Linked DNA regions of Homo sapiens: all the other regions are linked to region 7. The links are contacts of gene promoters, found by promoter capture Hi-C in blood cells and fetal thymus (Javierre and others, 2016). All regions are on one chromosome and are shown on one strand. Each heading gives the region's core, a stretch centred on a gene start or on the middle of the fragment in contact. The rest is flanking DNA. Distances are from core to core; before and after follow the strand shown. Region 1 overlaps DNAAF2 (dynein axonemal assembly factor 2). Region 2 overlaps MAP4K5 (mitogen-activated protein kinase kinase kinase kinase 5). Region 3 holds the start of KLHDC1 (kelch domain containing 1). Region 4 overlaps MAP4K5 (mitogen-activated protein kinase kinase kinase kinase 5). Region 5 has its middle 13 kb from the start of ATL1. Region 6 overlaps POLE2 (DNA polymerase epsilon 2, accessory subunit). Region 7 holds the start of VCPKMT (valosin containing protein lysine methyltransferase).

The links. The method cuts DNA at HindIII sites, captures the fragments that hold promoters and counts their contacts. A CHiCAGO score of 5 or more calls a contact.
Region 1: a fragment that was not itself captured here is called in contact with the fragment with the promoter of VCPKMT in region 7 in 5 of 17 cell types (fetal thymus, total CD4 T cells, naive CD8 T cells and 2 more); the score reaches 8.7 in fetal thymus.
Region 2: a contact is called between a fragment that was not itself captured here and the fragment with the promoter of VCPKMT in region 7, in 1 of 17 cell types (erythroblasts). The highest score is 7.1, in erythroblasts.
Region 3: a contact is called between a fragment that was not itself captured here and the fragment with the promoter of VCPKMT in region 7, in 9 of 17 cell types (non-activated CD4 T cells, naive CD4 T cells, fetal thymus and 6 more). The highest score is 11.8, in non-activated CD4 T cells.
Region 4: a contact is called between a fragment that was not itself captured here and the fragment with the promoter of VCPKMT in region 7, in 5 of 17 cell types (erythroblasts, total B cells, M2 macrophages and 2 more). The highest score is 7.2, in erythroblasts.
Region 5: a contact is called between a fragment that was not itself captured here and the fragment with the promoter of VCPKMT in region 7, in 3 of 17 cell types (naive CD8 T cells, megakaryocytes and activated CD4 T cells). The highest score is 6.2, in naive CD8 T cells.
Region 6: a fragment that was not itself captured here is called in contact with the fragment with the promoter of VCPKMT in region 7 in 5 of 17 cell types (erythroblasts, total CD8 T cells, naive CD8 T cells and 2 more); the score reaches 7.6 in erythroblasts.

Annotation. Positions count from the first base shown.
Region 1 is chr14:49,627,317-49,630,919 of GRCh38, forward strand. It overlaps DNAAF2 (dynein axonemal assembly factor 2), which reads right to left. Exons shown (of 3, transcript NM_018139.3): 2 at 696-839. Among named protein-coding and RNA genes, the nearest start is that of DNAAF2, 6.1 kb to the right of the region's middle. The HindIII fragment of the contact is 7,948 bases long and covers 1-3,603 here.
Region 2 is chr14:50,500,614-50,503,741 of GRCh38, forward strand. All of the region lies in intron 3 of MAP4K5 (mitogen-activated protein kinase kinase kinase kinase 5), which reads right to left. Among named protein-coding and RNA genes, the nearest start is that of MAP4K5, 30 kb to the right of the region's middle. The HindIII fragment of the contact is 3,450 bases long and covers 1-3,128 here.
Region 3 is chr14:49,690,346-49,693,805 of GRCh38, forward strand. It overlaps KLHDC1 (kelch domain containing 1), which reads left to right and starts at 2,775. Exons shown (of 13, transcript NM_172193.3): 1 at 2,775-2,945. The coding sequence starts at 2,850. RefSeq lists silencers at 2,920-2,969, 2,980-3,149. The HindIII fragment of the contact is 1,970 bases long and covers 297-2,266 here.
Region 4 is chr14:50,525,256-50,528,691 of GRCh38, forward strand. The region is part of intron 2 of MAP4K5 (mitogen-activated protein kinase kinase kinase kinase 5); the gene reads right to left. Among named protein-coding and RNA genes, the nearest start is that of MAP4K5, 5.6 kb to the right of the region's middle. The HindIII fragment of the contact is 1,017 bases long and covers 1,487-2,503 here.
Region 5 is chr14:50,545,549-50,548,695 of GRCh38, forward strand. It overlaps a transcript of MAP4K5 not described here and a transcript of ATL1 not described here. Among named protein-coding and RNA genes, the nearest start is that of ATL1, 13 kb to the right of the region's middle. The HindIII fragment of the contact is 6,765 bases long and covers 1-3,147 here.
Region 6 is chr14:49,653,605-49,657,119 of GRCh38, forward strand. POLE2 (DNA polymerase epsilon 2, accessory subunit) reads right to left here. Exons shown (of 19, transcript NM_002692.4): 11 at 2,067-2,239; 12 at 1,401-1,490; 13 at 1,180-1,234; 14 at 551-610; 15 at 386-463. Among named protein-coding and RNA genes, the nearest start is that of DNAAF2, 20 kb to the left of the region's middle. The HindIII fragment of the contact is 1,583 bases long and covers 1,408-2,990 here.
Region 7 is chr14:50,114,659-50,117,834 of GRCh38, forward strand. It overlaps VCPKMT (valosin containing protein lysine methyltransferase), which reads right to left and starts at 1,914. Exons shown (of 6, transcript NM_024558.3): 1 at 1,629-1,914; 2 at 1,411-1,521; 3 at 1,181-1,253. The coding sequence starts at 1,894. It overlaps SOS2 (SOS Ras/Rho guanine nucleotide exchange factor 2), which reads right to left. Exons shown (of 23, transcript NM_006939.4): 23 at 2,472-3,176. RefSeq lists an enhancer at 1,851-1,910. The HindIII fragment of the contact is 15,614 bases long and covers 1-2,653 here.

The sequences.
Region 1 (3,603 bases), core at 462-2,961, 490 kb before region 7:
ATTTGCATCTTCAATACTGAAGACTATAAAAATGACCAAAATTAAGATTGAATTAGAAAGAACGTACAAATTGTATAACATAGTTCTCATGGTTTGAGAGTCAAAAAAGATTGTATGTCCCTGGACTAGTACTCAAACTTCCTAAGTGTTAGTTTCTCTTTGTTCCTCATTGTAGGGTTATTTTGGGATTAAATAATGTGAAAATGAATAGCAAAGTGTTTAGCACATAATACATACACAGACAAAAGGCTTTTCTTGGCTGGGCGCGGTGGCTCATGCCTGTAATCCTAGCACTTTGGGAGGCCGAGGCGGGTGGATCATGAGGTCAGGAGATCGAGACCATCCTGGCTAACACGGTGACACCCAATCTCTACTAAAAATACAAAAAATTAGCCAGGCATGGTAGCATGCTCCTGTAGTCCCAGCTACTTGGGAGGCTGAGGCAGGAGAATCGCTTGAACCCAGGAGGCGGAGGTTGCAGTGAGATGAGATCGCGCTACTGCACTTCAGCCTGGGTGACAGAGGGAGACTCCATCTCAAAAAAAAAAAAAAGAAAAACTTTTCTTCTCTTAACATCACTCTGCCCAACCATTATGTAAATTTTGTTTAAAGTTATGATATTAAGAAATCAATAATTTGTTAGGTTTTAACTCTGTGCTTCATTACTCCTCTATAGAGCCCATCAACTTCCTTACCTTTGCATTAATTTGAATCTTATTATCAGTAACTTGAAGAACTTCAATTAATGGTGGGGTCAAGGACATAGACTGTTTGAATGGAGAGCTCAGGACCTCTTCAAGAAACTCATTAACATTTTCTTCATTGACAAATAACCTTTCCTAAAATAAAAAGGGAAAAAATATTCTGCCTAATAAGTCCCACTTGACAACAGTTGTATCTCAAAGCAGCTCACAAAAATTCTCACATTGTTCAGGGTTACACTTTTTAAAATGTTTATTTTAATGTTATTCCTATGAGCTGTCTTAGAAAAATTTAAGTTTGGTATTGTACAGAGCAATAAGAGTTGTACTGAGAACAAACATAAACGTATAGAAAAAGAACCTAAAAGAAAGAGGTCTTGGTACTTTTTCTGTCTATTAAACCTGACCTTTTAGTATTTTTCTTTCTTTTTTTGTTTCTTTTGTTTTGTTTTTTTGAGACATAGTCTCACTCTGTTGCCCAGGCTGGAGTGCAGTGGTGCAATCTCGGCTCACTGCAACCTCCGCCTCCCAGGTTCAAGCAATTCTCCTGCCCCAGACTACCGAGTAGCTGGGATTACAGGCGACTGCCACCATGCCGGACTAATTTTTGTATTTTTGGTAGAGATGGGGTTTTACCATGTTGGCCAGACTGGTCTTGAACTCCTGACCTCAAGCTATCCACCTGCCCTGGCCTCCCAAAGGGCTGGGATTACAGGTGTGAGCAACCACAGCTGGCCTCTTTTAGTATTTCAGAAGAATAACATCATCTCTAGGGCTATAAATGGGATCCCAGATACAAAATATAATTCAGCTTTAAAACATTTCCTAATGAGGTGGCTAAGAAATATACATGAAAAGATCTATTCAAATTTTGTGTGACCTTTTAGTTCTTGGGCAGGTAAGAGCCAATTACAGTATTTTATTTCAAATAAGTGGTGTGTTTTTTTGTTTGATTTTGTTTTTGAGACAGAGTCTTGCTCTGTCTCCCAGGCTGGAGTGCAGTGGCATAATCACGGCTCGCTGCAGCCTTGACCTCCCAGGCTCAAGTGATCCTCCCGCCTCAGCCTCTACAGTAGCTGGGACCACAGAACATGCCACCACTCTCGGCTAAGTTTTGCATTTTTTTGTAGAGACAGGGTTTTGCCCTGTTGCACAGGCTGGCCTCAAACTTCTGCACTCAAGTGATCCACCTGCTTTGGCCTCCCAAAGTGCTGGGATTACAGGCGTGAGCCACCACCACACCCAGCCCCCGCCCCCCTTTTTTTCTTTTTTTTGCCTTGAGACAGGGTCTCACTTTGTTGCCCAGGCTGGAATGCAGTCGCACACTCATAGCCCCCTGCAGCCTTGACCTCCCTGGCTCAAGCAATCCTCCACCTGTGCCCCCAAGTGCCTGGGTACCTGGGACTACAGGTGCATGCCATAATGCCCAGCTAATTTTTACATTTTTGGGGCCTGGTGTGGCAGCTAACGCCTGTAATTCCAGCACTTTGGGAGGCCAAGGTGGGTGGATCACTTCAGGTCAGGAATTCGAGACCAGCCTGGCCAACATAGTGAAACCCTGTCTCTACTAAAACTGCAATCACGTGAACCCGTGAGGCGGAGATTGCAGTGAGTCCAGCCTGGGCGACAGAGTGAGACTCTGTCTCAAAAAAAAAAATTTGACATTTTTTGTAGATACAGGTCTCACTTTGTTGTCCAGGCTGGTCTCCAACTCCTGGATTCAAGCTGTCCTCCTACCTTGGCCTACCAAAGTGCTGGGATTACGGGCGTGAGCCACTGCACCCAGCCAAGTGTATTATATTTTTAAGCACTGGGATACTCCAGCGTAACATTAGCAAACTGTATAGTTATTAAAAGAATGAAGTAGAGAGCATATATTCAGGGCATTTTGAATCTATGCTCCAGAGAAAAAGTAAATTATGAAAAAAATTAGGCTGGGCACAGTGGCTCATGCTTATAATTCCAGCACTTTAGGAGGCCAAGGCAGGTGGATTGTTTGAGCCCAGAAGTTCGAGACCAGCCTAGGCAACATGGCAAAACTCATCTCTACAAAAAATACAAAAATTAGCCGGGAGTGGTAGCATGCACCTGTGGTCCTAGCTACTCCAGAGGCTAAGGTGGGATGATCGCTTGAGTCTGGGAGGTTGAGGCTGCAGTGAGCCATGATCGCACCACTGCACTCCAGCCTGGGTGAGACAGAGCGAGACTCTGTCTCCCAAATAAATAAATAAATAAATAAATAATGAGGTAGATTTCAAGATGCTGACATGAAAAGATTTCTAAACTATTACTAGAAAATGCAAAAATCACCTTTTACCTGAATCCCAAACACAAAGCAGTTTGTTCATGTCAAGTGAATACAGGTGTATAGTTAGGGTGTGGGGAGAATAACCATATTAACCATATTTTAAATTAATTTATAAAAGCAGTTCATTGTTGCCCCAAATAAAAATGTTTTCCTCTGTAGTTTTATATAAGCAAATTTTGTAATTACAAAATAAACACAGCTCATTATTTGGTCCAAATAGGTGGAAAATATCAGAAAGAAACAAGTTTCAAGTTTCTTGAACTTGGGAACATATATTCAGGGCAACTTGAATATGTGTTTCCCAGGTTGCAGTCCTCTATTTTGGCCCAAATAAACTCTCTCTCCACACACACACACACACACACACACACACACATAAACTCTCTACACACACACACACACACACAAACTCTCTACACACACACACACACTTTTTTTTTTTTTGAGAAAGAGTCTCACTCTGTCACCAGGCTGGAGTACAACTGCGTGATCTCAGCTCACTGCAACCTCCACCTCCCGGGTTCAAGCAATTCTCCTGCCTCAGCCTCCCAAGTAGCTGGGACTGCAGGCGTGCACCACCACGCCCAGCTAATT
Region 2 (3,128 bases), core at 441-2,940, 390 kb after region 7:
GATTTATGTTTTTAAAAGTTCACTCCAGAGGCTTTCTGGAAAATAGATGGTGGGGAATGGGAGGTGTGGGCAAGGCAACAGGCACTAGAAGGGTGGAGATGGGTAACAAAGACAAGTAGATGGATTCAGGATGTGTTCTGGAGGTAGAGCTGAGGGAACTTGCTGACAGACTGATTCTTGAGCACAAATAAAAGAGAGAAATCGAGGTTAATGCCTACATTTGTGGATGGGTTAACTGCTTAGCAAAATGCAGAAGAAAAGCAGGTTTGAGAAGAATAATCAATTTATGGATTTAAATTATAATATTCCTAATACGGGAAAATCTTTTTGATAATATGACTTAGCCTATTGATAGTTGATACTAAGTAGGTGAGAATGGAAAGGAAATGGCATAAAAAGACCAATGGTGGGTAGTAAATCTACTAAATATAAAACTAAGTCTAAATAATTGGTCATGGCATTTATAAATTATAAATATTATATTTCTTAAAAGAAGGTACACATAGTAATACATACTCATACCCCAGTGCAATCAGAAAGTTTCTGGGCTAAAATCCCCAAATAAACCAATGAACAGTTGAAAATTGGGGGGATGATGAGGCAGGAAGAGTATAAATATGCAAATTTCAAAATCTGTAAACCAAGAATTCAACAGATGACTGTTTTATTTCTTAAACTGATAAACTAAAACACCCACAAATTTAAGTATATTATTCAAGGTCTTACAAGCCATTCTCTGACAAAACTACAGAATTGTATCTTACAAATTATCAGCAGTAAAAATAAAAGAAACCCCCAGCTATAATTTTTTTTAAAATTTAAGAAAATATTAAAAACAAAAACAACAACAGAATTAAAATTAAACATCTCTCCAAACAATATAATAGTGGACAGATTCACATATTAAAAAAAGAAAAATTCAGATTGGGTTATAAAACAAAAGTCAAATATAATTTTTTACAAGAGAAACATCAACAACCTAGAAAGGATAATGATAGGCCCAAGTATACCAGTTCTATCCATTTGTTGTATGCCACATAAATATAAACAAAAAGAAAGGAGGGTTGGCAATATCAATGTCAGATAAAGTTATATTCAAGGTAAAAAGGGTATCAAAGATCATTAAGGGAGTGAATGATTAAACATGGAGGATGCAAGTCACAATAGTAAGGGAAAGACTGAAGCCACTGACCAATATGAGTGACTAATGCATTATACATTTATTCCATTATTCTAACTCCCCCACTGGAATTCAAGTTCCGTGAGAACAAGGTCTTTGCCTTTTTGTTCTCTTCTACATTCCTATCCTCTAGAACAGAGCTTGGCGTATATTAGGTATTCAATAAATATTTATTAAGAAATGAAAATATAACATGAATTTTATGGGTCAACTGACACACATATAATACATTAAGCAGATGTGCCACAAATGGAAGGAGAAATGGACAAAATCACTCTAGTGGAAGATGATCAACACTTCTGTCAGAACTCATTTATGCCTACTGTTCCATTATGGGAACGCTAAGCACGTGGGAGTTATTTATAGCCTATGGCTCAAGGTCATCACCAAGGTCTGATTTTTCACACGTCTGCAATTCAAAAAACTGCAAACTCCAGCATAAATGGGTTAATAACACTGGAAGCACTATCCTACAATGTGAAAGTCTGGGCCAAAATAACATTCTATGTATGTCCGTATAGTTGCAAAAACCACGAAAAACATTTGAAAACTGCCAGAAAAATATGAATTCTGTAAGACTGCCAGAGACAAAATATAACCAATAAAATCAATGGCGAAGTAAATATCTATAATAACCAATTAGACAGTGTAAGAGGGAAAAAGGAAGCCATTCCCAATAGCGAGAAATACCATAAATATGAAGACGTGGCAAAAACTTTCCTAAAGACCTGAATAAGAAAAAACCTTTACTATTGTCAAAATGCCAAATATCCTACATTAATCTATGTGCCTTTTTTCTTCTTGATAAAAATGATTTTAAAGTTCTGAAGAAAAAAATTTTACAAACAGGAAATACCTGAAAAATAAAAAGAGTGAAGATTATAATACGCAACAAAAGTTTTGGTAATCAAAACCAGGATAGTGTTGAAGTAGGAATAGAAAAAAGAAAGTCACTGGAACAGAACACAAAATCTATGTTTACATGGAAATTTAGTTTATGACAACCAAGGCACTTCAAATCTGTGGATAAGAGACTGAATCTATAGTAATGGCTTTGGGAAACTAGCCATTTGAAAAAATACATAGAGAGAGTTCTCTTTCATCCCTTAGAACAAACTTGCTCCTGATTGAGCAAATATTTAAATTTTGGAAGGAAAAAAAGGAAAAACTGGAAGAAATTACAGTTCAAAATTGTTATAATTATCTAGGAGAAAAGGCCTAAGTACAAGGAAATGGGGAATAGAGAAAGGAGGACTGACAAATTTGTCGGAGAGAAAAAAGAACACTTCCACATGGAAAAAAAAAAGTATAAGCAGAGTGCAAAGACAGAAGACAAATTGTGGGAAGTGTAAAATACATGATGAAGAGTCACTATCCCCAAAATGCAAACAGCATCTAAAAATCAATAATAAAATACAAATAACCTGATAGGACTGGGGCAAGGCATAAGAATAGGCAACCAAAAAAATTTTTAAATGGCCAAATACTAAGATCACATCATCAATATTTACTGAACTTCCATGTTATTCTTTTTTGGGGGACAGGTTGAAATATTACTCAATCTTAATACATGGGTCACATCTAACATAAAATAATCAGTAGCTTTTACAAAACAAGGCAGTGAGAAATTCCAGCCTTTCAAAAGAGTCTTATGATCCTTGCATTTAATCCTTATATTTTAAGTAATCATACACATATTTTTCTTTTTTACTGAATTGCCTTCTTATGTTAGTTCTAATATATGGCTTATTGAGAATTCAGAATTGCAGGATTTAAAAAATACACTCATTAATTCATTATAATGAACTATAATATTAGGTTGGCAAAAACTGCTATAATATTAGGTTGGCAAAAACTGCAATTATTTATGCATCAACCTAATGAAAAATAAGCCATACCCTCAAGTCAAGTAAGTGAAACCGTGTTGTAACAAGCCCACTGCACTCGC
Region 3 (3,460 bases), core at 32-2,531, 420 kb before region 7:
TTCTCCTGCCTCAGCCTCCCGTGTAGCTGGGACTACAGGCGCGCGCCACCATGCCCGGCTAATTTTTGTATTTTTAGTAGAGACGGGGTTTCACCGTGTTAGCCAGGATGGTCTCGATCTCCTGACCTCGTGATCCCCCCGTCTCGGCCTCCCAAAGTGCTGGGATTACAGGCGTGAGCCACCGCGCCCGGCCTATAACCTTGTTTTATGTGTGTTTTTATGTAAAGACATCTTTACATTGTGATTCGTTAACACTGAACTCAGGGCCAAGAGCCCTATAACTCATAGCTGAAGGAAGCTTATTTATCACATGTATTTTCTCCATAAGGCACTCCCACTCTCAAATAATTCAACAAAATGAAAAAGACAGACACACACATACCAACAAACATAAAGCTAGTATGGTAGTATTAATAATTATTAACCTGGAGTGGAAGATACACAGGTACTCTTTGAACTATTTTTTCAACTTTTTTTGGTTTGCTACTTTTTATATTAAGAAATTGGAGAGAAAATAATCAATTCCAGTTGCCCAGCTTTCTCTCACAATCTGACCTCACAATTCCCCTTTTCCCATAAATGTTCCCAATCATAATTCTCTTTCTCTAATAAATTTTCAACTTCTTCTATGGCTCCTTCACCTGGCCAGCTCATAAAGTCCCAATACTTAAATGAACAATTATATGCTGATGACTCCAAAATCCCTATCTCTAGCCCTTAGCTCTCTTAGACTTCAAATCCAACTCAATATGCCTCCAAATGAACTCACCATTAGCCCTGCCCTCCCCCAAACCTGTTCCTCCTCCCATGTTCAATAACCTAGCGAAGGGCTCCACCCACCTCCCACCCAGTGACCAAGCTGGTAAACTAGGCATATCCTTGACTCTTCCCTCTCACGAATGAAAGTTCCTTGAACAACTTCCGTTCATCATTCAGTTCTTAACTTAGACTTTACTTTCTCTCAGGAACCTTCCCTGTCTTCCCTCAATCTGAGTTAAAGGGCCTCTGTACACCCAAGGTGCCCTGGACTTTTGCTATTTTCACACTTACTGCACGGTATGGTAATTGTCTGTTTGCTGGTCTATAGACTCCACCAGACTCTACAGTCCAGGAGGACAAATGCTCCATTTCAAAAATACAATACCAATATTACTAGTAACAATAAAGTGATGGAGTGAGAATTATGATTGACATATAGTTTACACTAAGTAAAATGCACATATCTGTATGCAGTTCAATGCATTTTGATAAATGTATACACCCATGTAACCACCACCTCAATCAAGATACAGAACATTTTAATCACTCCAGAACACTTCCTGTACTCCTTTCCATCAGTCCCCTCCCCCTCCCTACTCCCAAATGACCACTTTTCTGCTTTCTATTATCATAGATCACTTTTGTCTATCTTGAATTTCTTCCTTCCTTCCTCCCTTCCTCCCTCCCTCCCTTCTTCCTTCCCTCCCTTCCTCCTTTTTCTTTCTTTCTCTCTCCCTTTCCCTCTCTCTCTCTTTCTCTCTTTCTTTCTAAGGAACCTTGCTCTGTCGCCCAGACCGGAGTGCAGTGGCGCGATCTCGGTTCACTGCAACCTCCACCTCCCGGGTTAAAGCGATTCTCTTGCCTTTGTAGCTGGGATTACAGGCATGCGCCACCACGCCCGGCTAATTTTTGTATTTTTAGTAGAGACGGGATTGCCCAGGTTGGCCAGGCTGGTCTCAAACTCCTGAGCTCAAGTGATCCGCCTACCTCATCCTCCCAAAGTGCTTAGATGAGAGGCGTGAGCCACTGCAATCCAGTTACATTTGTAAAGTTAAATATGCATTTATCCTCTGACCCAGCAATTCCACATCTAGAACTCTACTCCAAAGATAGGCTTGTACAAATACAAAATAACATATGCATAACGTTTCATCGCAGCATTATTTATGATAGCCAAAAAAACCTGGAAATAACCGATATGTCCATCAATAAGAATCTGTTTGAATAAGCTATGACACATCCAATCGGTGGAGTGCTATGAAGCTATGAAAAGGACTGAGGAGACTGCTTGCTGTATCCTGATATGGATCGTCAAGTGAAAAGAGAAAGTTAAGGAACACTGTATATACTTCCTTTTGTGTAAGAAAAGGAGCAGATACTCTGTTTATTTGTATAGTCAAAAATAAACAATAGAAAGTATCATTAAAGTGCACCAGACTTAAGTGCCTTCTAATGTGATGCAATATGAAGTATTTTCCAAAAAAAAATCTGAACTAGAATCTAATAAAGCTTTTAGATACAGCTTCCAGCCTAAAAGAAGTATGGGGAAAGGATGCACAAGTTAATGAGAAAAGACACTGAGGAACCAAACCCAGAAGGTGGTACGGCTGTAGGAAAATAAGAAAACTAATCCATATAACAAACAAATGGCACAAGAGAGAAGGGAGAGAAGCTATTCTAGAGTAAAACAGACGTAAAGTCTTAAGAGGCGTTAACAACGAATTACGGTGCTGAACAAACCAACTATAGAAAAGACATTTTGAGATAATCAAGGAATCTGACTACAGACTGACTACTAAATGAGGCTGTACTGCCAAAACACAATTCCAAGAGAGAAGGAATCTGCGCGTGGAAAGCCCAGGCCCCTTGCCCACTGCGAGGAGCCAGAACGTCCCTCCACAGCCGCGCCGCCCCTGGCTCGACTTCCCGAGCGAGAGCCGCGGGACGTTGCAGACGCACTGGCTCCGCCTTCCCACCAATCTCGACCCTCGCCGCGTTCCGTTCGTGCGTGGAGCAGTCGGGGCTGGAGGCGAGGCCGCCGGGCGGGCAGGGGTTGTGGCGCGGCAAGCGGCGGGCCAGCGACGGCGCGAATGGCGGACTCTCAGCTGTTCTGTGTGGCGGAGGAACGCAGCGGCCACTGCGCCGTGGTGGACGGAAACTTCCTCTACGTGTGGGGGGGCTACGTGGTAAGGGGAAGAGGCGGGACGGGGTAGACTCGCGCCGGGAGACCCTCGGCCTGAGCGGACGCAGCGCCCGCCACACCCGCTCCCGAGGCTGCGGCCCAGGCCTGGCGCGCCCGGCGCCTGCAGCCCCCCAGCCCCTCCGCTGGCCGCCGCCCCCACAGCCGCGCCAGGGCTTGACGTCGTCCCGCCGTTGCTTCTTCTATTAAAGCCTCAGACCCGGCTCCGGGCCTCTTACCACTCTCCGCCCCTCTTTGCCAGCAATTCAGTAACCACGGTTTGCCCAATGCAAAGGCAGTTACAGCGCGATTAATTATTATCCTTAAATACTGGCGCAGACCTAGAAGGACCCGAGGACGCCGTGCTGTATCATTTTGTATATATTTCCTTATTCCCACGGCGCGATTCGAAATAAAATATCGAAATCACTGAAGCATTTAAATATTTATTTTCTTTTCTTTTTCTTTTTTTTTTTTTTTTGAGATGGAGTTTCGCTCTTGTTGCCCAGGGCTGGAGTGCAA
Region 4 (3,436 bases), core at 745-3,244, 410 kb after region 7:
ATTTGGTATTTCCTAACTCTGTTGATAGCATCAATGTAGTCACTCAAGCCAGAAATTCTAAATGCCATCAATTACCCTTCTCCTCCTGCCCCTCACCGATTACCAGGTGTTTTTGATCATCTTCTAAATATGACTCAAATCCATCCCTTCCTTTCATCTTCTATACCAGGGCCTAAATTTAGTCTTGCATAAACTCTCATCCGGATTATTCGGGAACTGGTCTCTACATTTCTAGCCACTTTGTAAAATCCTTACACTACACTGTAAGATATTTCCTCCTAAAAAGTGTTTCTCTAGTCCGGGCACAGTGTACTCACACCCTAAAATCCCAGCACTTTGGGAGGCAGAGGTGGATGGATTGCTTGAGCCTCCGAGTTCAAGACCAGCCTGGGCAACATGGCGAAACCCCACCTTTACAAAAAAATAAAATAAAATACAGAAATTAACTGGGCATGGCAGTGTGTGCCAGTCCCAGCTACTCAGGAGGCTGAAGTGGGAGGATCACTTGAGCCTGGGAGGCGGAGGGTCTAGTGAGCTGAGATCATGCCACTACACTGCAGCCTAAGTGAAAAAGTAAGACCCTGTCTCAAAAAAATAAAAATAAATAATTGAAAAGGTCCAAATTCTTTGATATGACACATGGAGTCCATTAGCTGGTGTTTCCTGCCAGAAAATAGCCTCTATTCTCCATCTATAAAATAATAAAAATAAATAATTGAAATGACATCTCTGCCAGATGTCACACTGAACCTGGAATGAATACAGATGCAGATCTCTCAAAACTCATCACGGCTTCTCAAGCCTCCAGGTGTTTGCACATACTATACCCAAAGCCTGGAATATCTTTTCCTATCTTCTCTACCTAGAAACCACTGGTCTTCTTTTAAAAATCCAGTTAATGTTCCTTCCTCTGTTAATCTTCCTTGGTTCACACTCCTCTCTCTCCCTTCCTTCATCCCCAATAAAGGCAGAGTTTGGCATTTCTTCCACTTCTCCTCTATGGCACATAATTTTCTACCAAATTATGACTGCTTACATGTCTGCTTTCTTTTTTCTTTTTTGAGATGGAGTTTTGCTTTTGTTGCCCAGGCTGGAGTGAAGTGGCGCAATCTCAGCTCACTGCAACCTCCGACCCCCGGGTTCAACCAATTCTCTTGCCTCTCCCAAGTAGCTGGGATTATAGGCACCTGCCACCATGCCCGGCTAATTTTTGTATTTTTAATAGAGATGGGGTTTTGCCATGTTGGCCAGGCTGGTCTCAAACTGCTGACCTCAGGTGATCCACCAGCCTTGGCCTCCCAAAGTGCTAGGATTACAGGCGTGAGCCACTGCGCCTGGCCACGTCTGTTTTCTTGACTAAACCATATGTTCCTTATTGACAGTGTACTTCATCTCATGTTTGCATCCCCATATCCTAACACATTGTCAGCACTCAACAAATACTTCTTTAATGAATGAATGCTTCTAGAAGTGTGATGATACATTAAGCTTTGTCTCTATAAAATGGGATCTTGGGATATGTTTCAAAGTGCCTAAAGCCATTCCAGAATGGTGACTCTTGGCTGGAGGAAAAGAAAGTAAAGGCATACATAAAGGAGATTCCCCATAGCAGACCTAATTCATCTAGCATCCAGAGGAACCCACGTTAGTGATAAGACTACATGACAAAGACTTCTACGCAAATTATAACATCATTTATAATTGCAAAAAAAAAAGTTTAAAAACTAGAAATAACAAATATGCAACTTAGAATGATTAACTAAATGAAGGCTCATTCAACGGATCCTTTAAAAATAGTACTTTTGACTGGGTGTGGTGGCTCACCCTGTAATTCCAGCACTTTGGGAGGCCAAGGTGGGCAGATCACGAGGTCAGGAGATTGAGACCATCCTAGTCAACCTGGTGAAACCCCGTCTCTACTAGAAATACAAAAATTAGCTGAGTGTGGTGGCACATGCCTGTAATCCCAGCTACTCAGGAGGCTGAGGCAGGAGAATCACCTGAACCAGGGAGTCAGGAGGTTGCAGTAAGCTGAGATTGCGCCACCGCACTCCAGCCTGGCGACACTGCAAGACTCCGTCTCAAAAAAAAAAGTACTTTTGTATGATTACACCACTGCACTCTAGCCTGGGCAAAAGAGCAAGACCCTGTCATCCAAAAAAAAAAAAAAATGTACTTTTGTAGAATATTTAACGACTAGGGAAAATGCTGGTCATTTCAATCAAACAGAAAAAAGACCTGTATCATATTCCCAATCATAAATTAAATATAAAAGCCATTTTGGAAATACTGATTTAAAAACATTTAGGAAATAAGCCTGAAATAAACTGTATTAAATTATTAGCAGTACCTATCTCTGAGTAATTTTCTACAACTAATTTGTTCAACAAATATTTATTGAGCATTTGTTTGTTACATTACAAAGATGTGCAAGAGACATCTGTTTCTGTCCCCTGGGAACTAAACATGTTATTCTTCTATAATCAATCAGATAAAGCAATAAAGCTTAGAAAAAAATTCATAGGATTGCCCAGTCTAAATTTATATTCTATGAAAGGTAAAATAATAATAATAATAATAATAAATAAATAAATAAAAATAAAAATAAAAAGCCAGATTGCCAGAACTTCTCTGAAATCTAGGCTGGAAGCAATTTTGATACAAATATTTGGATAAGGGCTGCCCAAATGGCTTGTACTACTGATTATGAACTGTATCATGATGCTGTAGTTGTTATAGATCCTTGTGGTCAGAGGTAGTTGAGAATCTAAATCTCCAGATTTATCCTTCCTGCTGGCAGATCTACATTTTTACAGTAATTACAAATAAAAGCTGCTCAGTTGACATTTAATCCTTCATCCACCATCCACCAAATTCCTTTTCTCTTCTGTGTTTCTTTTCCCTCTACCATTTCCTGCTCTTGCCCTCAATGATTCACTCCATTTATCTAAAAGAATCTTTATGTTCCTCCTCTTCTTTCAACCAAAGAACAGCCAATATAAGATTGAACTCTCCCTCTTGGGGATTCTCAGGAAAGATGGAAGCTTCAGAGGGGATCTGTGGTATTGATGAACATAAAAGTAAATTACGAAGAATCTCAAAGCCAGAGTCCTTTAAAGCTTCTGCTTCAAAAGATACCTAAGGTGTAAAAAAAAAAAAAAAAAAAAAGGCAGGGAAAAATCCAGGCTTGGTGGCTCACACCTATTAATCCCAGCCCTTTGGGAGACTGAGGCAGAAGCATCACATGGGGTCAAGAATTTGAGACTAGCTTGGGCAACACAGGAAGACCCTGTCTTTACATTAAAAAAAAAAAAAATTAGCCAGGCATGTTGCCACACACACTTGTAGTCCCAGCTACTGAGGAGGCTGAGGAGAGAGAATCCCTTAAGCCCAGGAGTTCAAGGCTGCAGTGAGCTGATCGTGCCACTGGACTCCA
Region 5 (3,147 bases), core at 16-2,515, 430 kb after region 7:
GTAGTGCAAGGACCTAAGATGTTAAAGTACAATAAGAATAGCAGATGTGCTGTTGCTGTGGTAAGACTGGCTACTGAGAAATTGTTAAAGCAGGAAAAATAGATACAAAAGTTAAGGGAGGAGCTGCAGTTAGAAAGGCACATGCGAGTATCCATGTCGGCCCTGGTTGGGGATTTGGTGGAGAAGGTAGATAAAAGGGAGGAAGGGTTGGAACTCCTGTAGCTTATGTTTCCAAAAACATGGGGAAGTTCAAAGGCATGCCAGGTTTTCTAGGACGCCAGCTGGTTACATATTATGACTCATCCTTGTGCACCTTTTTAAACTGATGGCCAAATTACAGCAAGAAAAATCCAGAGCTCAAATGTTTCACCTTCAGCTATAGTTCATCAGATCTTCTGAAGCTCTCTATTTCTCTCTTTTCTTTTCTGCCTGCTTTGAATCTGTTGTTATTAAACTACTGGTGTTGAAATCAAACTCACTGTTTATGGTACTGCTAATTCAAAGCCACTTGGGGATTTTGTTTTTCTTACACAGGTCAGACAATTCTAACTAAAATGTAAATGTTAGAAACTCATTTGAAACTGAAGAAAAAAAAGAGGGTAAAAGAAGTTTTTTAAAAAATCAAACTGCTATGAAAACTACTTTACCCCAAATTTTTGTCCACAGCCTTCACTGGATTACCTATTAGGCAAATAAAGTTTAGCCATATGAAGGGGTCCCAATTTTGTCAAAAATGATATGGATCCAGTTATCCTTTATAGTCTCATGAGTTTATAATACTATCTCATGGCTAGAGTTCTGAAGTAAAAGGTACTGGGTGTGTGTGTGTGTGCGTGTGTGTGTGTGAGAGAGCATACATGTTTATGTTTATATGTATGTACATGTGTTATATGTTATGTCTGACATGCTACCAACTTGGCTTATAAGTAAATGAGTACTCACACATTAAGGTAAAGTCAAGTACTTTTTAAGTTTGTGTAAATTTAGTAATCTTTAATAAACAAGCTGGATTTAAAATTATTGGTAAAATAAAATAGAAATGTCTTCAGAATTGTCTGCATACATTTTTGTCTAGGTTTACTGATTAGGTAAGTTTTATATTTGCCTCTGCTAGATATTTTAAGATGTCAGAGTTTGACATGAAAGTTATAAGACTGTAAACCCAGCCAAAACCAGAATGATCTTTGTTTGTGTGGTTTTTTTGACAAATAAGACTAATTTAATATAGTTGGTTCAATGAAAGTAACAAAATCTTCTGAATTATCAGCAAAATGCCCATGTGTTTAAGGTTTTTTTTTAATTATTATACTTTAAGTTCTGGGGTACATGTGCGGAACATGCAGGTTTGTTACATAGGCATACACGTGCCATAGTGGTTTGCTGCACCCATATACCCGTCATCTACATTAGGTATTTCTCCTAATGCTATCCCTCCCCTAGCCCCCCACCCCCCAACAGGCCCTGGTGTTTCTCACTCATAAGTGGGAGTTGAACAAAGAGAACACATGGACACAGGGGGAGGGGGGAACTTTAAGGTTTTTACTTAGGTGAACATCTTATATTTACAGGCTATAAAAATGGTTAACAGGAAAATAAGTTAGAATAGTGATTAGATTTGTCTAATATCTCAGTTCTCATGAGTCATCCAGATAAACTGCTAAAAACGAATGAATTGGATAGATATGAATGAGATAAATGCTTATAGGTGAACTCTTGTGTAATTTAAAATCTTAAAATTATTTTAGGTACTCAGTGAATGTCTGAGTGATTTCCAGTTGAAAAAAAAATGTTATAATAGAGGGCATTGGTTGTACTTCTGTACCTGTTAATGGGAAATGAAATCTGTTATGTAGGGGAAGCATTGGTGGACCTCTGTGAGCTGAATAAAAACAAGGACGGAGTCTGAAAATAAATCAAGGAGCAAAAAGAATATGGGCCAAATGGGTGCCTGTACACTTGCCCTAGCCCAGGCAGGCAACGAAGATGAAATAATACTGCCTACCAGGGGAAGATTCTGAGATCACCCAAACAATCCAGAAGTTACATAAGGTACAGATAGGCCAGAACCCCTATAACAGCCCTGTGTGGCCTGTGAAAAAGCCAAATGGCACTTGGAAAATGATGGTAGACTACCATGAGCTAAATGAGGTGGTGCTGCTTGTATCTGCTGCCGTACCCAATATTACTCAACTGCCACAGCAAGTAGTCCTTAAGCTGGGAAGTGTCCGTGCTATGATTGACTTGGATTATGCCTTTTCCAGTATTCCTTTAGTGGAAGATTTACAAGACCAGTTTGCCTTCACTTGGGAGGGCCAATAATGGACTTTCCAGGTACTACCAAAAGGATACCTGCACAACCCCACCATCTATCACAGTATAGTTGCATAGTACCTATCTAGACTCTCTTTGCCTGCCTCAGTCTCTGTGTTTCACTGTATTAATGATATCATGCTAACCTCAGAGTCTCTTGCAGATGTGGAGACTACCCTACAAACCACCTTGGATGGCCTAAAGAACAGGGGATGGGAAGCCAACCCCAAAAAGATACAGGGGCCCGGGATAGGGGCCCAAATTCCTGGGAGTTACCTGGTCAACTAAGACATGAAACATACCTGGAGCTGTCACTGATAAGATAGTACAGCAGCTTGTTCCCCAGACAGTAAAGCAACTGTAGGTTTTCCTAGGTTTACTGGGCTACTGGAGGATATTCATTCCTCATTTGGCACAAACCCTCAGCCCATTGTACACCCTAATGAAGAAGAGTAAAAAATGGGATTGGGCACACATAGAGCAAGAGCCATTTGAGAAAGCAAAAATATTGGTGAAACAAGCCCAAGCACTAGAGGTCCCACTGCCACAGGATCCTTTTGTATTAGAAGTCACTAGAGATGCCACAAGGATGACTTAGGGTTTGTGGCAAAAGCAGCCAATGGGAATGGTAACTGTAGGGTTTTGGTCTCAATTATGTTTCTTTGTTTTGAGATGGAGTCTTGCTCTGTCACCCAGGCTGGAGTGCAGTGGCGTGATCTCGGGTCACTGCAAGCTCCACCTCCCAGGTTCATGCCATTCTCCTGCCTCAGCCTCCCCAGCAGCTGGGACTACAGGCACACACCGCCACGCCCAGCTAATTTTTTTGTATTTTTAGTA
Region 6 (3,515 bases), core at 949-3,448, 460 kb before region 7:
AATCAAGTTAGTTTTTTTGTTTTTTGTTTTTTTTGTTTTTTTGTTTTTTGTTTTTTTGAGACAGGGTCTTGCTCTGTCGCCCAGGCTGCAGGCTGGAATGCAGTAGTGCATTCTCAGCTCACAGCAACCTCTCCACCTACCAGGCTCAAGTGATCCTCCCATCTCAGCCTCTTCATAGAACCACAGGCGCGTGCCACCAAGCCCAGCTAATTTTTGTACTTTTTGTAGAGATGGGTTTCACTGTGTTGCCAAAGCTGGTCTCGGAACTCCAAGCAACCTGCCTGCCTCGGCCTCCCAAAGTGCTGAGATTACAGACATGAGCCACCACACCTGGCTAATTTTTAAATGAAAGGAAAAATGTATAACACAAAATACTAATTCTTACCTGCAAGGATTAGTAGTAAAAACTGAAAATGGTACCCTTTGTCTGAATTCATTAGTGATGCTTTCAGCAAGTGGTGGCCTATAAAAACAATTTATGTGATATAGTTTATCTTTTTAAGTTTTACAAAATTTTCTACACTGTTGCAAAAATCTGAACAAAACTTACCTTGGTAAGATGGAACCAAATCCAGGATCCTCTGGACCAGGTACAAACACAAAACGACTACTGTAGCAAAATTCAACACAATTCATTTAAAAATATTATTGTAACACTATCCAATAGCTTAAAAGCAAGTTATTCCCTTTGTTTTCTCTTTAAAATTAAAAAACATTTAAATTTCATGCATTATAATAAATGAACTATTAAGTCTCCAGACCAACACTGTCTAGTAATGTCATGATAGAAAAGTTCTATATCTGCACTGCCCAATTGAACACTTGAATTGTGGCTAGCATAGCTGATGGACTGAATTTTATATTTAAATTTAATTAAACTTAGATTTAAAGAGACATGTGGCCAGTGACTATCATATCGGAGAGTGAAGCTCTAGACTCTTAAGAGTAATGCCACGAAGAAATTCCAAGTATGGCTGAAATTACCTCTATCCCTTTCAATACTTTTCATTATAAACCTCTAGTACAATGTGAGGATAACTTTATCTCTTAGTTCTTTTAATTTTCTCAACTTTATCTTTCTTCCTTAGTTTTGTAATAATTGCTGATATAACAAAATTCATTTTTTGTTTTTTTTTTAAGTAAAACGGTGAAAAAATATATAGTGCTAGAGATCATTACCTTTGGTGAATATCTGGGTATTCACATATTATATCTGCCAAAGTTTTTAGGGAATCTAAAATTTTAAAAAGGTATTGAATTAAATTTGCATATAATGCCATAAAATTATATTTGATTAGATACAATCCTGTATATTCTTAATTAAAATATTATGGATAATTTCTTATTACTTTAGTTTATATGACTATAGAAACACTTCTTATTAAATAGATCGTTAATACCTTTCAAAGCTTGAACTTGATTTTTTCCATATGGTGCAGATGAAAAATTACCACACAGAATAAAGCAGGTTGGAGGTGCTGGTGAATAACCTAAACAATAAAAGAGTAAATGAACAATACTTTTCTAGTCTACAAATCAAGTTAAAAACCCTTTAACCATGACTTTCTAATAATAAAAATTTATTTTAATTAAAATAACATTTTAATAACTTATTAAAATAATACTAATAACAGTAGCCATTCATTGAGCACTTACTATAGGCCAGGCCTGCATTGGCTTAATTACTCCTCAGAACATCCATAAAATCTGAGACTTAGGTTAAGTAACCTGCCCAGGGTAATAGGCTTGCACTTAAACCCAGTTTGTTTTTGTTTTTGTTTAGAGATGGGGTCTCACTATGTTGTCCAGCTGGTCTTGAACTTCAGGACTAATTCTTACTTATCATGACTATAAACACACACACACACACACACACACACACACACAGGTTTTTTTCTTAATGTAAAAATTTAAGTCTTTAAAATGAAATCTAATTTAAATTATCTCATTGCTAACTCTGTTTTTTTTTAAATAGAATACTCAAAAAGATAAATAGAATACTCAAAAAGTTTTAAAACATGAACCCTTAAAAGAGTTCAAGAAAGAAGAAAAAAAATAAGACCTACCAGCAAACATTATGCGAAGTTTTTCCAATACTTCCACCTGGTCCAACCAAACATCAGATAAAAACACAAACATAGCATCTTTATTCTCCTCTTCTAGCTGTTTTAGTTTTGCAGAAGTCTTCACAGATGTATTAGAAGGACCTCCAAAAAAATTAATATTTCCATAGTATGCCCTAGATAATTATAACATAATTATCTTCTATATACCACTAGAGATATTTTTCTAATAGTTGTATACATTTAGCTTCTTTGTATCTAATGAAGTTATTTTCCAGTGTAAAAAGGTACTCTTTGTAACACTTTAAAAGTACAAAGGTTATCTAAATATTCTAAAACAAGATAAGCAATATGGAAGCAGTAAATAAAATAATAGGCTATATCTGTGTCTTAAAACTGACTAAACGGCCGGGCACGGTGGCTCACGCCTGTAATCCCAGTACTTTGGGAGGCCGAGGCGGGCGGATCACGAGGTCAGGAGATCGAGACCATCCTGGCTAACACAGTGAAACCCCATCTCTACTAACAATACAAAAAATTAGCCGGGCGACGTGGCGGGCGCCTGTAGTCCCAGCTACTCTGGAGGATGAGACAGGAGAATGGCGTGAACCCCGGGGGGCGGAGCCTGCAGTGAGCCGAGATTGCGCCACTGCACTCCAACCTGGGCGACAGTGAGACTCTTGTCTCAAAAAAAAAAAAAAAAAACTGACTAAAGCAAACATTAAAATAATAATTTCCTATGTCACTGAAAGTAGAAGAAATGAGTACACCATTTGAACAATATCTCATAGAAACCTCAAAATATGTGCTAACCATCTGCCCAAGTAATTCTACTTCTGGAATGGCTAATCCTAAGGAATTAAAGATATATACAAAGACTAGCCTATATCCAAGAACTGTGAAAAAATTATTCAACGGTTCCTTCAAAGCTTGGTTTTATTCAATGCTCACCAAGCAAGGGTCAGTAGGAAAGTGGGTAATCTACACACTCCCAGCCTCCACCACTCTTGCCCACTCTACACTGACATCCTGCAGTTCCCAGCTTAAATGCAAATACCCCATAGGCCTCCTCTGAGGATCCCAAAAGAGGTTAGATTTTCCCATTATACACTCTCATAGGAACCTGTACTTCTCCTTTGCAGATCTTATCAAATTTGTAATCAGGCCAGGGTGGCTCACACCTATAATCCCAGCACTTTGGGAGGCCGAGGTGGGGGGATTGCTTGAGGTCAGGAGTTCAAAACCAGCCTGACCAACATGGTGAAATCCACCCCATCTCTATTAAAAATGTGAAAATTAGCCGGGCATGGCAGCAGGCACCTATAATTCCAGCTACTCGGGAGGCTGAGGCAGGAGAATCGCTTGAACCTAGGAGATGGAGGTTGTAGTAAGCCGAGATCATGCCACTGCACTCCAGCTTGGGCAACAAAGCAAGATTTTGCCTCAAAAAAA
Region 7 (3,176 bases), core at 664-3,163:
GAGACAAACCACCCCCCGCAACACCTTACAAAAAATTTAAAAATTAGCCAGCATGCTGGTGCACACCTATAGTCCCAGCTATTGAGGAGGCTGAATGGGAGGATTACTTGAGCCTCAGGAGCTCGAGGTTACAGTGAGCTATGATCACTCCACTGCACTACAACATGTGTGACAGAGCAAGACCCCTATCTTAAAACAAAAACAAACAAACAAAAACCCCTCTGTAACTAATGATTGGGTAAGCTCCTGTTAACTAAACCATGTACTGATTTTGGTTTCCAGAAAAAGGATTCAGATGACTGCATTTTGGAGTTCTCATGGGAAACAAATGGAATCAACCTTACTCTTAAAAGTTTAATTTTATTTAATCTAATTTGGGATTTAAATAATCAACGATTTCCCTACAAAAGTTAAATCTGACCCTAACTTGGTTCAATGCTAATTATTTTTAAAATAATCGATGCCCACAACACTATACAAACTGATGTTTTTTTTTTTTTTTTTTTTTTTTGAGACAGAGTTTTGCTCTTGTTGCCCAGGCTGGAATGCAATGGCATGATTTCGGCTCACTGCAACCTCCGCCTCCCAGGTTCAAGCGATTCTCCTGCCTCAGACTCCCAAATAGCTAGGATTACAGACATGCACCACCACGCCTGGCTAATTTTGTATTTTTAGTAGAGACAGGGTTTTGCCATGTAGGTCAGGCTGGTCTCGAACTCCCGACCTCAGGTGAGCCACCTGCCTTGACCTCCCAAGTGTTGGGATTACAGGCGTGAGCCACCGCGCCCGGCCCAAACTGGTATTTAAAGAAAAGAACAATGAATTATTTATAACTTAATTCTCAATGTCATGGTTAACATGTTCCGTGGGAACAACCAAGGGAAAAAGAGAGGATTTTGGCTTTTCATAACATCCAATTGGCAAAATCCTTTAAAATTTTTACAGAAGCCTCTAGTAAAATGCATATAACACTTTTCTCAACATGCTTCACCAGGTCGGTATGATAATGATGAGCGTATATACATATGGTCCCTGGTGACTTTTATCTTCTCTTTACTGCATCAACTATAAGGCAAATCCCGGATTCAAAGATGTTAAAATGTGAAGAAACGTGTGCTTTAGAATTCATGGAATAAGGTTCATCTTCTAAGTGAAGAGACTTCGCTCACTGGATACTTACCTCTTCATAGTATATGCAGTCGGCCATCAGTATGAAGTCGGGTGGAGAAGGAAAGCCTTCTATTTCTTCCCCCCTTAAAAATGCCAAACAAATATTTCAATTGTTTTAATAATTCAAAATACTCTTGTTTTATAAAGAACCGGAAAGTCCCCTTCCATCCTTTTAATGAAACGCAATTCAAAACAAACTACAAATCAATATCTTAAAACAAGCTGAAAGGCCATACAAACCATTTCAGTACCTTGGCTTGAACAGAACCAGTGACAAGATGCTTGTTCATATTAATATTCATCTTCAGCAAGTCTTGCAATTCCTCAAGATCGGTGACTACAACATCAGCCCTATAAAATAACGTCGACTGAGGTGTAGGCACAGGGGGGAAAGCCTGTAATCCGGATTTCCCCAGCAAGAAGGCGCCCCCACATCCCGCCCGCCCGCCAGCTCTTACCCGAGGGTAGCAGCCATGAGCCCCACGGCCCCGGTGCCCGAACCCAGCTCCAGCACCGACCGCCGGCTCAGCGCGTGGGCCCCGTCGCCAGAAAACTCGGGCGTTTCCAGGTATTTAGAAAGGACAATGGCAGCGTCCCACACAACGCAACCCACGCCACCGGAGCTATACTGCTGTAGTCGTAGCACTGTACCATCCCGCTTCTCCAAAACTCGCACAAAGCTCCGCAGTGGGTCCTCCAGCGAGGACTCCAGCGTATCCGCCATTGCGCCCGGCAACAGAAAGCGGCGCGCGCAGGGACGTCACATCAACGCGCACCGCCCCGCCCTGCGGCTCCGCCCCCTGCCCGCCGCTGAGTTGGCGACGCAGCGCGCGCGAGTTAACAAAGCCCGGAAGGCAGCGTTACCTGGGCGGGGCCGAGCGTGGGGCCCCTGCTTACCCGACGCGCTTGGCAGCCTCCCTCTACCCTAAATCACACGTTTGGCTTAACGAAGAGGCCGTTTAAATCACTTTCCCAGACAAAACTATTATAATCTGCTCTTTAAAAAACAAAGCCAACCTCAGAGTTTACCAAGTTGGACACTTGATTTACATAGTAGTTACAAGGCTTAAATGCAATCAGCTTCCAAGATCCTACCAAAGATGGCTATAATCTTACAATCTTCCTTTTCAAGTTCCTAGTATGCTCCTAGTTTTTTGTATGAATTCATAAAAGTGGTTGCTAGAAGCCTGCAGCTCACATTTAACAGTGAAGAAAAAATTGTGTGTGTGTGTGTGTGTGTCTATAGGACTCAACAATCTCCCCCTTTGTTCCTTATAATGAAAACACATATTTTAAAAGTCTTTTAAAAATTAAGACTGGGGTGATTTATTAATCTTGTTAAGAACTCTGATACAAAGCACAGTAAAAGGCCACAAACCAGTAAATAAACAACGTGGCTTTTGGCTACTTTACAACTGCTGCTACAGCACTATCAGCAAAACACTCTATCACTTTGAACGAAGGCATCCAAATGGCAAATAAAAGCTTTACTCACTTATCTGATTAAAATGTTTAATAAAGCTTTAAGTATTTGCTGGTTTAAATATTACCAATCTAAAAAATATATTTAAAAAAAATTTCAGTTAACACGAGATTTATAGAGAAAGTTACTAGGTCTTGAAGGCAAGGCAGTTGGTTCCTATGCCATAGAATTTTTTTTGAATTTATGAATTAGTAAAGTAGCAGATTGTATTATAGGCCTCAAGTCACTTAAATTTATATAGGTTATTAGCAGTATCTTTAAATATACAATATAAACAAAACTGTACATACATGGCATATTAACTGTTTTCCATAACAATAGGCAATTCATTAGCTAAAGACGTCATAGTCTGCAAAAACAAAAGGCACATCTGAATGAGATACATGCCCTTTTTCCCTCCATCATTGGGTTATGTAGTCTTTGTTTACATTTTGACAAAATAATAAACACTTACAGTGCCATTCTATTATTTTCATCCTACTTTTCATTTTTGTCTTCAGCAGCAAATACCGGCATTTAAGAC